Regions from separate parts of the Homo sapiens genome. Here all the other regions are linked to region 1. Evidence: promoter capture Hi-C in human tissues and cell types (Jung and others, 2019). All regions are on one chromosome and are shown on one strand. Each heading gives the region's core, a stretch centred on a gene start or on the middle of the fragment in contact. The rest is flanking DNA. Distances are from core to core; before and after follow the strand shown.

The links. The method cuts DNA at HindIII sites, captures the fragments that hold promoters and counts their contacts. A contact is called where the count stands out against the background at its distance.
Region 2: a fragment that was not itself captured here is called in contact with the fragment with the promoter of KMT2C in region 1 in 1 of the 25 tissues and cell types used here (dorsolateral prefrontal cortex).
Region 3: a contact is called between a fragment that was not itself captured here and the fragment with the promoter of KMT2C in region 1, in 2 of the 25 tissues and cell types used here (hippocampus and ovary).

The regions. Positions count from the first base shown.
Region 1 is chr7:152,434,459-152,438,513 of GRCh38, forward strand. It overlaps KMT2C (lysine methyltransferase 2C), which reads right to left and starts at 1,545. Exons shown (of 59, transcript NM_170606.3): 1 at 1,168-1,545. The coding sequence starts at 1,328. It also overlaps the pseudogene FABP5P3. RefSeq lists enhancers at 1-41, 512-561, 602-831 and silencers at 1,312-1,371, 1,752-1,801, 1,892-2,181, 2,222-2,561. The HindIII fragment of the contact is 14,314 bases long and covers 1-4,055 here.
Region 2 is chr7:152,743,851-152,748,105 of GRCh38, forward strand. No RefSeq gene overlaps it. Among named protein-coding and RNA genes, the nearest start is that of ACTR3B, 14 kb to the right of the region's middle. The HindIII fragment of the contact is 4,449 bases long and covers 97-4,255 here.
Region 3 is chr7:152,761,171-152,765,107 of GRCh38, forward strand. All of the region lies in intron 1 of ACTR3B (actin related protein 3B), which reads left to right. Among named protein-coding and RNA genes, the nearest start is that of ACTR3B, 3.4 kb to the left of the region's middle. The HindIII fragment of the contact is 3,230 bases long and covers 1-3,059 here.

The sequences.
Region 1 (4,055 bases), core at 295-2,794:
AAATCACCAAACAACAATACTATTACTAAGTGAATGCACCCGAACCAAAGAAACAGCCTATCCATAAACGTGCTGGCTTCCTTCACGTCCCAGCGCACCCTTCCACTCCCGACAGTTCAATGAGAATATCATCTCACGAAATGAGTAAGCACACACGCCATTCTACAACTTCGAGAGACATTCACAGTTCTTCCACGGCACACGCGAGAGCCACAGAAGCCGAGCAGTTCGCTGGCACTAAAACGGTGTCTTAATTTACAAGCAAAGCCGTCAAATAACCGTTCTGTAAGAAGACATTTCTGGTCCTCTAATAAGCTGGGGTCCAGCCCTACTGTACGCTCAAAGGCAGGCGACCCTATTCCCAAGCCCCTTACAGCTAAGACTTACGAGGGAAGCGACATTTACATCTGCACTCTCTCCGAATAAGTGCTCTTGGTATTCTGCCTTACGAGGGGACGCTGGCTACGTCTCCAAAACTTAGGCAGGCCGTTCCCCGAAGCTGGGGGATCCCACAGGACTTGTGCTTTCGGAGCCCGGGAGTGCGGTGCTGGGTGTTGGGGGAGGGGGGAGGAAGAAGTCAAATGGCTTCCTAATATATCATCAAAAGAAGAAAACACAGGTTTGGGACCAGGAAAAGTTCCAGGAGCAAGTCGCTGACAAACAAAAGCTGCACTCGCCCGGCCGCTTTCTTCTCGCCCCCAGCCCGCGCCCCGAGACCACCTGGCCCGGGCGTTTTGACAGCTCCGAGAGTTTCCCGAGCGCCGACGGCTCGGCGGTTCGCCCGGAGTCCGTCCGGGGACTACCTGGGCGCGCTCCGGGCTTGTTTTCTCAATGATCCAGCTAGGCCAAGACGCGGCTACGAGAAATTTCTCCAAAAGAAGAGTCGCGGAGAAGACCCAGTGAAAAGGCCCGACTGAAAAGTAAAGTGTGCGGAGCCGGGCGCCGGCGGGAGCCCGGGCGGGCGGCGCGGAGCGGGGGAGGCCGGGCGCGGGCGGCTACCGAGGGGCGCGGGGCCGGGGCCGGGAGCCGCCACCGCCCGCGGGCCCGCCCCGCCCCCACCCCGCCGGGGGGCGCCGGGGCGCGGAGGCCGCGGGGCGGGCGCCCGGTGACAGCTCCGGCCCGGCGCCGCCGCTGGCTCCCGGCCTGGCTCCCTCGCACTCAACTTACTTCTTTCTGGCTCTCTGGAAAGGGGAAGCGCCATCTTTGCGAGGCCGGCCCCGAGGTCTTTTGTCTGCGGCTGCGGGGCTCGGGGCCGGGGCTCCAGGCTCCTCGGGGGGTGGTGGCGGCGGCTGCGGCTGCTCCACGCTCTTGTCCTCCTCCGACGACATCCTAGTCACCAGGAAAGACACATGGATCCCGGTCCTCCTCCTGGGGGGCTCCCGCCGCCGCGGCCGCCGCCGCCGCCGCTGCTGCTCGGGTTCCTCCTCCCCGGCTCAGCCTCTCGCATTTCCCGCAGCCCCGGGAGCAGCAGCAGGTACCGGGAGAGGCGGCAACATGGAGCGAGCAGGACACGCACTCACACACATCGGCGCGGGCGCGCGCACCTCCGCGCGCAGGGGCCGGGCGGGGGGCGGCGGGCGGGGCGGGCGGTGCGGGGCGGGCGGGGCCGGCGGGTGCGGGCGGGCGGGGCAGCCGGGCGGGCGGGCGGCGTGAGGGGCGCCGGCCCCCGGGGTCTCCGCCCGCGGCCCCTCCCCCGAGCCGCCCGCGGCAGGAGGAGAAAGGGGCCCGGCGCGGGGAGGGCCGGCCGCGGGGCCCGGCGGGGGCGGCGAGGGGGTCGCGCCCCCGGCCGGCCGCCCCTCCCCCGCGCGTCAGGCCCGTCAGGCCCGGGCGGCGGCGGCGGCGAAGTTTTGACAGCTGCTCCAGTGGCGGCGCTGGGCGCCGGGCCGCGGCTCGCTCCTCACACTCGCTCTCTCACACACGCTCGCTCGCTCTCCCGGAGCAGGGGAGGAGGAAGTTTTGCGGGTGTGCTTGGACCCCACACACACGCCGCGCGACCGTGGCCGTCGCGCGAGGCCCGCGCCGGGGATCCCCCGGGGCGACCCGCACCACAGACCTCTCCAACTCGCAGCCGTCGCGCCCACACACCGCCGCCTCGACGGCCCCCGCCCGCTCCCCCACACTCGGCCCCTCGCCCGCCCCCCGCGCGCCGCCGCTGCCACTCACGGGCCTCGCTCCGCGCATGCGCCGCTCCCGCCGCCCGCGGACGCGCCGCCGCCGCTGACCTCACCGCCCCTCCCCCTCCCCCCCGGGTTCCCTCCCCCTGTGACGCGGCGGCCGGGCCCAGCCGCGACTCCGGCTCCGGCTCCGGCTCCGGCTCGGGAGGTAGCCAAGCTGTGGACCCAGAGATCCGGGATCGGGATCGGGGAACTGCGGGCGAGGGCGGGAGGGAGCCGCGGACACACGCCGAGGCGGCCGCGGTCGCCCGGCGCAGCCCGGCGCGAGGAGCAAATGTGCGCCCGCACGGCGAGGGCAGCCCGGGCTTCGCTGGTTCTCGCCGAGGTCTTTCCTCGTAGCGCCCACACTACGGGGAGGAAAAGGAATGGAGTCAACTTCGTTCGAATCCAACGCCAGTTAGTTTCCTTATTATAACGTCATTTTTTTTAATCCAGAAAAGGTTCATAAGGATGTAAGACGAAAAGAACGATGACAGCTCGAGAAATAAAACGGTTAGAGACAAAATAAGCCAATAAAAACCCAACCACTTGATTTTAACGTTCAGTGTGTTGTGATGAAGAGGCAAAAATCGAAGTACTTCTAAGCCACCTCTCATAATATGTAAAAATGGTAAAAAGAAAAATGGGGCTAGAATCCGCCTGAAAAATGCACTTTCTCAAGAAGGACAGTTACAAATATGGGATTCTGGATTTCTCAGGCTAATACCTAACACTTGGACGATGATCTATTCTGTGCTTTCCATTCACTATCGATTAGTTTATGAGAGTGAAAAAATTCTAGATTTGAATGGGGGGAAATAGTAAGACCTATCAACCATTTGTGAAGGATTGGGGTAAACTATCATTTAATAAGCATCTACTTTGGGCCTAGCGTTAAGAGGCACACTCTCATGTTGATTTCTTTTGATCTTCGCAGTGTAGTTTTAGTGTAAGGTAAAAAAAAATAGGCTCCTTTTCCAGCGATGTTTGCTTTCCCTTCTAGTAGCTAGGATGTTAACTTTAAACTGTGTCTTCTACTTGGGCAAAATACACACACTTTGATTCCCAGAGCCTATTCTAAATGAAAGCATAATTTTTTGAAATGGCTGAAATGAGGAATAACGTCAGATAGTCATTTGAATACCTTCAGGGTTTAATCCCTGCTGGCTCTTTCAAATTTACTAAATTTATAACCAAAGGAAATTTGGGATTGAGGAGGAGGCTGGCATGGTAAATGCAAACTAGAAATTAAAAGTGCCTGACGATTACACATAGAAATACAACATATATGTGACTAGTGATAAACATATGATGTGATCTAGTGAAAGTTTACTCAGTACAAATTTGAAAGCACCCTTTCTTTTTTCATTTTCTTCAGCACATTGTACTTTAAATAAAGTGTGCTTTCAAAACTGGATTATTGATCCAAATATTTAGCTGTGTTCCGTACTGAAATTAGAATAGGCACTTCCACGGTGAGTTTCACATGTACAAAATTATACATCAGGATAATTTACTTCCATACGCTTCTCCAGCACTTCTGAGAACTTAAGTGTCAGTGGATACAAATTGCAAGTCACTCCTGCTGGAGAGTTCACAAGAAACAAAGGGTACTAAGAGCAGAAAAGTGAGCCGAGTGAATGGAAGGGTAGAAACAGAGGTTTGTGCAGGGATGCTTCTGGATAGATGATGATGCAGGTAAGTAAACTCAGCCTGAAATCTCCATTCCTTTGGCCACTATGAGCAGGGAGTTGGGATCTGTTTTAAGAGAGCTGATAGCAGTCTCCTTGGCATGAAGTTATCATGAACAGAGCAAATCAAATATAACCCAGGATGCTGAGGAAGGATTCAAGGAATACTTATTCAACATAAATAAAGGTTTTCCAGAGGTTTTTCCGTCTC
Region 2 (4,255 bases), core at 1,071-3,570, 310 kb after region 1:
TTGAGCCCCCCCACTTTTTTTTTTTTTTGTTTGTGTTTTGTTTCTGTTTTTGTTTTTGAGATGGAGTCTCACTCTGTCGCCCAGCCTGGAGTGCAGTGGCACGATCTTGGCTCACTGCAACCTCCGCCTCCCAGGTTCAAGCCATTCTCCTGCCTTAGCCTCTGAAGTAGCTGGGATTACAGGCATTCACCACCACACCTAGCTAATTTTTAATATTTTTAGTAGAGATGGGGTTTCGCTATGTTTGTCAGGCTGGTCTCACACTCCTGATCTCAAATGATCCTCCCGTCTCAGCTTCCCAAAATGCTGGGATTACAGGTGTGAGCCCTTTTTATTTTTGAGACAAGAGTTTCACTCTTGTTGCCCAGGCTGGAGTGCAATGGCACAATCTTGGCTCACTGCAACCTCTGCCTCCCAGGTTCAAGCCATTCTCCTGCCTTAGCCTCTGAAGTAGCTGGGATTACAGGCATGTGCCACCATGCCCGGCTAATTTTGTATTTTCAGTAGAGATGAGCGTTCACCATGTTGGTCAGGCTGGTCTCAAACTCCTGACAGCAGGTGACCCACTCGCCTTGGCCTCCCAAAGTGCTGGGATTACAGGTGTGAGCCACAGCGCCCAGCCAGTGAGCCCTTTTGTAAGGGTGCTAATTCCACTTATGTGGGGAGAGCCCTCCTCACTTAATCACCTCCCAAACGCCATACCTCTCAACACCACTGCACTGGGGATGAAGTTTCAACATGAATTTTGGAGGGGATGCCACGTCATCATTCAAACCATATCAACATTCACACCAAAGCGAGGGGGATCTTGTTTACTAAACTGTGGGCTACCAGCTCCTGCAGTGGGTGGGTCCATGGGAACCAGAATCCAGCTTTGTGAAAATTAAGATTCAGCCACTTCAAAAGTGGGAAACTACACTTAGACCAGTTCCAGCGTGGTAGAGAAATGTGCAGCATGATGGCATAAGCATTCTTTTTTTTTTTTTGAGTTGGAGTCTCCCTCTATTGCCCAGGCTGGAGTGCAGTGGCGCAATCTCGGCTCACTGTAATCTCCACCTCCTGGGTTCAAGTGATTCTCCTGCCTCAGCCTCCATTGCCTCAGCAATGGAGTAGCTGGGACTACAGGCGCATGTCACCACACTTGGCTAGTTTTTTTGTATTTTTAGTAGAGATGGGGTTTCACCATATTGGCCAGCCTGGTCTCAAACTCCTGACCTTGTGATCCACCCACCTTGGTCTCCCAAAGTGCTGGGATTACAGGCGTGAACCACCACGCCCGGCCAGTATTCATCTTTATATAGGAATTAGGGGATGGGGAAATTATTAGTAATCTCTTTCTTGCTCAATAAGGAGCTTTGGGGAGTATTTTGGCTGAAATGTTTGAGTTACTATTCTAAATGCCTCTGTCCTTCTCAGGAATGAGACCTGCAGACCAGAATGGGAGAGATGGGCAGAAACTCTAGAGCTGGATGGATCTTTTTGGAAAGAGGGAAGAGTTAACTCATGAGAGAGAAAGGATAGCTGCTGCCAGGAGGAAGGAGGCTGGGTGGCTGACGGTGAGTCTTGGGCAGGTAGGCTGAGAAAGAGATGGTGAAAGGGGCATTGGAGAGGGTCTGCAGGCAGGAGCAGTGTGAGCGCTCACTCAGCTACTTGAGAGGCTGAGGTGGGAGGATCCCTTGCACCCAGGAGTGTGAGGCTACTGTGAGTTGTGATTGTCCCACTGCACTCCAGCCTGGGCAACAGAGCAAGATCCTGTGTCAAAAAGAAAAAAAAAAAGATAAGCTCAATTTAAAAGCAAGTAGTGCCCATGTCAAGCTGTATGCTTGTTTTTGTTTTTTGTTGTTTGGGGGGAGGGTGGGATCTTGCTAGGTTGCCTAGCTGTTCTCCAACTCTTGGGTTCAATTGATCCTATGGCCTCAGCCTCCTGAGTAACTGGAACTACAGGTGCATACCACCATGTCTGGTTGGGCTGTATGGCTTTGCCCTTGCATTAGGCACAAAGCTGTGGGCTTCCTGGTGAGCACCTTCAAAGCAGTCTTACTCAAAGAAGCATTGGTCAGGCCCTTAAAGTCACTGAAAACACTCCCAGTCACCATGGCATCTGATATGGTTTGGCTCTGTGTTCCCACCCAAATCTCACCTGGAACTGTAATCCCCGTAATCTCCACACGTCAAGGGAGAGACCAGATGGAGATGATTGAATCACCGGGGTGGTTTTCCCCATGCTGTTCTTGTGATAGTGAGTGAGTCTCATGAGATTTGATGGTTTATAAAGGGCAGTTTCCCCTGCACTCGAACACAGGCTCTCCCACCTGCCACCAAGTAAGACGTATCTTTGCTTCTCCTTCATCTTTGCCATGATTGTAAGCTTCCTGAGGCCTCCCCAGCAATGGAGAACTGTGAGTCCATTAAAACTCTTTTCTTTATAAATTACTCAGTCTCAGATATTTCTTCATAGCAGTATGAGAACAGATTAATACAGCATCTTCCAAGCAAACACTGAAGAGGGGGCTGGAACATTTTCCAGTGGTAATTTTTCTTTTTCTTTGTTTTTTAAGACATGGGGTCTCACTCTGTCACTCGGACTGCAGTGCAGTAGCGTGATCTTGGCTCACTGCAGCCTTGACCTCTGGGCTCAAGTGATCCTCCTGCCTCAGTCCCCCAAGTAGTTTGGACTATAGGTGCGTGCCACCATGCCTGACTAATTTTTTAATTTTTTTGTAGAGACAGGGTTTTGCCATGTTGCCCAGGATGGTCTCGAACTTGTAAGGTAATAAGGTAATTGTAAGGTAATAAGGTAATAAACTGCATCTTTATTCTTCACATCAGCCCTGTGAAGTCACTTCCTACATTTTGACAAGATGGAAACTGAGTCACAGAGAGGTTAAGTACCTTGCCTAAAGTAACAAATGCATCAAGCCAGAGCTGAGATTTAAATCAGGCAGTTTGGCCTCAAAGCCTGTATCTTTGACCAACATGGACTATTTGGCTCTGAATTACAGAAGTTCTGGCACCATGACCATTAAGTGTCTTTGGACACAAGGGAGAGCAGGTATGAGGACATGAAAAATTCAACATAGTTCATTTCTATTAATAAAAAGATGTCTCAAATCTTAGTAATATTGAGGATAGGTGTCTTTCAATCTTTTTTTATACCTTAGTTATAATCCAGATAACCAAAAACAGCTGTGTGATTTTGTCCACACAAATCTAAAGCTGAGAGAATCACGAATGAGAACAAGCTTGGCCCATGGCCTGCGGGCCAAATGCAGCCCAGGATGGCTTTAATGCAGCCCAATGCAAAATCGTAAACTTTCTTAAAACATTATGAGTTCTTTTTGTGATTTTTTTTTTTTTTTTTTTTTTTTGCTCATCAGCTACCATTAGTGTTAGTGTATTTCACATGTGGTCCAAGACAATTCTTCATCTTCCAGTGTGGCCCAGGTAAGCCAAAAGATTGGCCCGCCTTTGAGTTAGAAGAAGGCAGCTGCTGAGGATGAGGGCAGTAATGATATGGACACTTGCCATGTGACACTACTTAGCATTTTTATTTTTAAAAACTTTATTGATTCATTTTTGAGACAAGGACTCACTCTGCTGCCCAGGCTGGAGTGCAGGGGCTTGAACATAGCTCACTGTAGCCTTGAACTCCTGGGCTCATGTGATCTTTCTGCCTCAGCTTCCTGAGCAGCTGGGACTACAGGTACACCACCGTATCTGGCTAACTAATTTTTTTTTTTTTTTTTTTTGGTAGAAGTGGGGTATTGCCATGTTGCCCAGGCTGGTCTCAAATGCCTGGGCTCAAGCTATCCTCCCACCTCAGCCTCCAAAACGGCTGGGATTATAGGCATGAGCCACCATGCCCAGTCCTTGGTATTTTTATACACTAACTTTACAACTCAGAAAAAGCCTTTCTTACAGACAAGGAAACTAAAGCTCAGAGATATTAAATTACTCATACAAAAACATACATTTCTTTTTTTTCTTTTGAGATGGAGTTTTACTCTTGTTGCCCAGGCTGGAGTGGAATGGCACAATCTCGGCTCACTGCAACCTCCACCTCCCAGGTTCAAGCGATTCTCCTGCCTCAGCCTTGCAAGTAGCTGAGATTACAGGCATGCGCTACCATGCGGCTAATTTTTGTATTTTTAGTAGAGACGGGGTTTTACCACATTGGTCAGGCTGATCTTGAACTCCTGACCTCAGGTGATCCGCCCTCCTCAGCCTCCCAAAGTTCTGGGATTACAGGTGTGAG
Region 3 (3,937 bases), core at 195-2,694, 330 kb after region 1:
TAGCTCTTTATTTTAGAACTTGCTTTTCTACCTAAAACACAAGCCAAAATCAGCGTTGTCGATACTACAGCTCCCCTCCCTCAATTATTGACACCCTTAACTCATGCCCTCCCCCAATGGGTTCACCTCAGGTCCCCTCAGGTCTGGTTGTGTCAAGAGTGAAACCAGTGGGTGAAAGTATTTTTCATTTCCACATTTGCATGTGAGATTTTTGCTTTGTAGTTTTAGTCTTGCAGAACTATTAAAATATAAAGGAATTCTTGGTAGTAGCAATAAAATAATGCTCACAGAGTTGTCATACCTTTAAGATTAGTAAGTCGTGGACCTTACTCATCTTTCTTGCTATAAATACCTAAAATGTCGTGCTCAGTTTTGACCTTTTGAGGTAAGTGATTAATGTAACTTGGCTAACTTGGAGATTCAACTTCTATAGATCATTGTTTTGTGGCCCAAAGTCATGCTTCAGAAGTTGGTGTCAAGACTTAGAAACGGTGGCAGGGAATCTCCATATGAATTCCCCATATCGAGTGTATGGCCAGAAGGAGCCTGAAAGAGCCCGAATTTACCAACTTGAGCACATCAGTAGTTCTTACATTTCCCAGAGAGCCAAAATGATTTTTGGATTTAGTTTTGCCTCAAAATAGGACAAAAAGTGGTAAAATTCAGATAAAAATAACCAAGCCAAAGGAAAAGAACGGACCTAGGAAGTCACCCTGAGCTTTAGCCCAGTGGCTGCTGAAGTTGGTCCGCACATTCGACCTTAGTCTTCCTGTCTGACAACATCATAAGAGTCATGGTTATGTAATTCCTGTCATCAGAAATCAAGAGAAATACCTGTTTCTTGGGTGAAAAAAGCCTTTTTTTGTAGTACTAAATTGTAAAAGCATTGAGCTATACATAGTGGGCACTAATGATTTATTGGACAGTGTGATAAACAGTATTTTTTACAAATAAATTTCATCCCAGTATCCTTGAATCCTCCTCAGGTAAACCCCGAGACTACCTGAGTAAGCAGTGATGTGCTGGAGGCCAGGATAATATGGACAAAGGGATCTGCTGAGTCCAAAAATAAAGCTTCATCTATTTAAAGGGATGACTAGGCTGCATAGTTTTCAGAGAATATTTCACAACTCCGGTCTCACTTCTCTGAGCCAAACTTTTCAAATGAAGTCTTTTGCATTTTTCAACTTTTTTTGAAATAATTTCAAATCTACTGAAAGCTGGAAGAGAACAAAAAACTACTGTATACTCTTCTTCCAGTTTTACCAACTGTTAACATTTGCTTTGTCACTCTCTGTATGTCCATACATATTATTATTACTTTCCTGCACTGTTTGAGAGTAAGTTGCAGAGATCATACCCTTTTATATCAAAATACTTGAATGCGTACTTTCTGAGGACACATTTTCCCTTCTAGAATCACATTCCAATCATCAAAATCAGAAAATTTAACATACATACAGTAGTATCCTATATACAGTATGGATTCATGTCTTTTATGGAATGTCACCCATGAAAGACCTCCCCATCAGCGGCATACATTGCATCTGGTGGGTGTCATGTCTTTTAAGTCTAATTTAATCTGGAATAATTTCTTAACCTTTTTTTGTCTTTCAAGATGTTGGCATTTTTGACAGCCAGTTGTTACCTAGTGTTTCTCTGTGATAGATACAGGATATGCATATTTGTCAGGACTACCACAGAAGTCCTGTTGATCCTTCTTAGTGCATCCCATCGAAAGGCTTAAGATAGGGACTCGCCTCAGTCTTGATGAAGTTCACTTGGATCATTTGGAGAGGGTGATGTCCACGAGGTTTCTTCACTGTTCAGTTACTATTTTTCTTTGTAATTAATAAGTCATTTGGCTGGGCGCGGTGGCTCATGCCTGTAATCCCAGCACTTTGGGAGGCCGAGGCGGGCGGATCACCTGAGGGCAGGAGTTCGAGACCAACCTGGCCAACATGGTGAAACCCCGTCTCTACTAAAAATACAAAAATTAGCTGGGTGTGGTGGTGCGTGCCTGTAGTCCCAGCTGCTTTGGAGGCTGCTCAGGAGAATCACTTGAATCCGAGAGGCGGAAGTTGCAGTGAGCCGAGATCGGGCCACTGCACTCCAGCCTGGTGACAGAGCGAGACTCCATCTCAAAAAAAAAAAAAAAAAAAAAAAAAAAAAAGTCATTTGTGGGGGAATATTTTATGTAAGTACTCTATTCTTAAACTTTCATCCATTAGTTTAAGTATCCATTGGTGACTCTTGTTTTTTTCTTTTTTTTTGACAGAATCTTGTTCTGTTTCCTAGGCTGGAGTGCAGTGGCACAATCTCTGCTCACTGCAACCTCTGTCTCCCAGGTTCAGGGAATTCTCCTGCTTCAGCCTCATGGGTAGCTGGGATTACAGGCATGAGCCACCATGCCCGGCTAACTTTTTGTATTTTTGGTAGAGACGGGATTTCATCATGTTGCCCAAGCTGGTCTTGAATCCTGATCTCAAGCAATCCACCCGCCTTGGCCTCCCAAAGTGCTGTGATTACAGGCGTGAGCCACTGTGCCTGGCCCATTGGTGATTCTTGCCTGAATTACTAATTATGGTGATGGTTGCAAAATGGTGATTTTTGAACTCTATTATTCTGTCTCCATTTATTAGTTAACATTTTATTTTAAGGAAGAACTTATCCATAGGCCTCATTTGTTTATTGTCTGTATGAGTTGTCGTTCTGTTCAAAGAATGATAATCCATTATGCCGTCCTCATTGTTGTCAGTGGGTTATCTATTGCTTAAATTGTCCCAGATTTTGCCAAGTGAAGCTCATTCAGGCTGACTCCCATGTTCTTTATTTTTTATTTATTTATTTTTTGAGACGGAGTCTTGCTGTGTTGCCCAGGCTGAAGTGCAGTGGTGTGACTTCAGCTCACTACAACCTCTGCCTCCCGGGTTCAAGCGATTCTCCTGCCCCAGCCTCCTGAGTAGCTGGGATTATAGGTGTACACCACCACGCATGGCTGTTTTTTTGTATTTTTAGTAGAGATGGGGTTTTGTCATGTTGGCCAGGCTGGTCTTGAACTCCTAACCTCAGGTGATCTGCCCACCTCTGCCTCCCAAGGTGTTGGGATTACAGGAGTGAGGCACTGCACCTGGCCTTCCATGTTCTTTAGACATGTCTTCATTTTTTGAGCATTCTGGCCAGGCGCAGTGGCTCACACCTGTAGTCCCAGCACTTTGGGAGGCCGAGGATGTGGATCACGACCCGTGGTCAGGAGATCGAGACCATCCTGGCTAACACGGTGAAACCCCGTCTCTACTAAAAAAAAAAAGAAATACAAAAAAATTAGCCGGGCACACTGGTGGGCTAATTTTAGTAGTCCTAGCTACTCAGGAGGCTGAGGCAGGAGGATCGCTTGAACCAGGAGGCGGAGGTTGCAGTGAGCTGAGATCGCGCCACTGCACTCCAGCCTGGCAACAGCGAGACTCCATCTCAAAAAAAAAAAAAAAGAAAAAATAAAGCAAGGATATCTTTTTGTATTTTTTGCCTGAGTATCTGTGGCTTAGATTTTTAGAAATGGGATTTCTGGGTCAAAGGGCAAATGCATATGTAATTTTGCTAGGCAGTGTCAAATTACACTCATTAGTGTGCATTCTCACCAGTAATGTGTGAGGATGCCTGTGTCTTACAGACTCACCAATAGAGCCTATTGCCAATTTGTAAAATTACCAACCTAGAATAAATGATATCTTAATGTCTTTGTTTTGTGTTGCTGTAACAGAATACCACACACCGGGTAATTTATAAAGAAAAGAATAGAATGGTGAAGGTGACAGCAGTTAGTTGGAGTGAGCATCCTCCAAAGTTCTACAGTGTGGCCGAGGACCTTGATTGTACATTGTTCTTTATTTTACTTATTTATTTTTATTTTTGTTTTGAGACTGGGTCTTACCCTGGC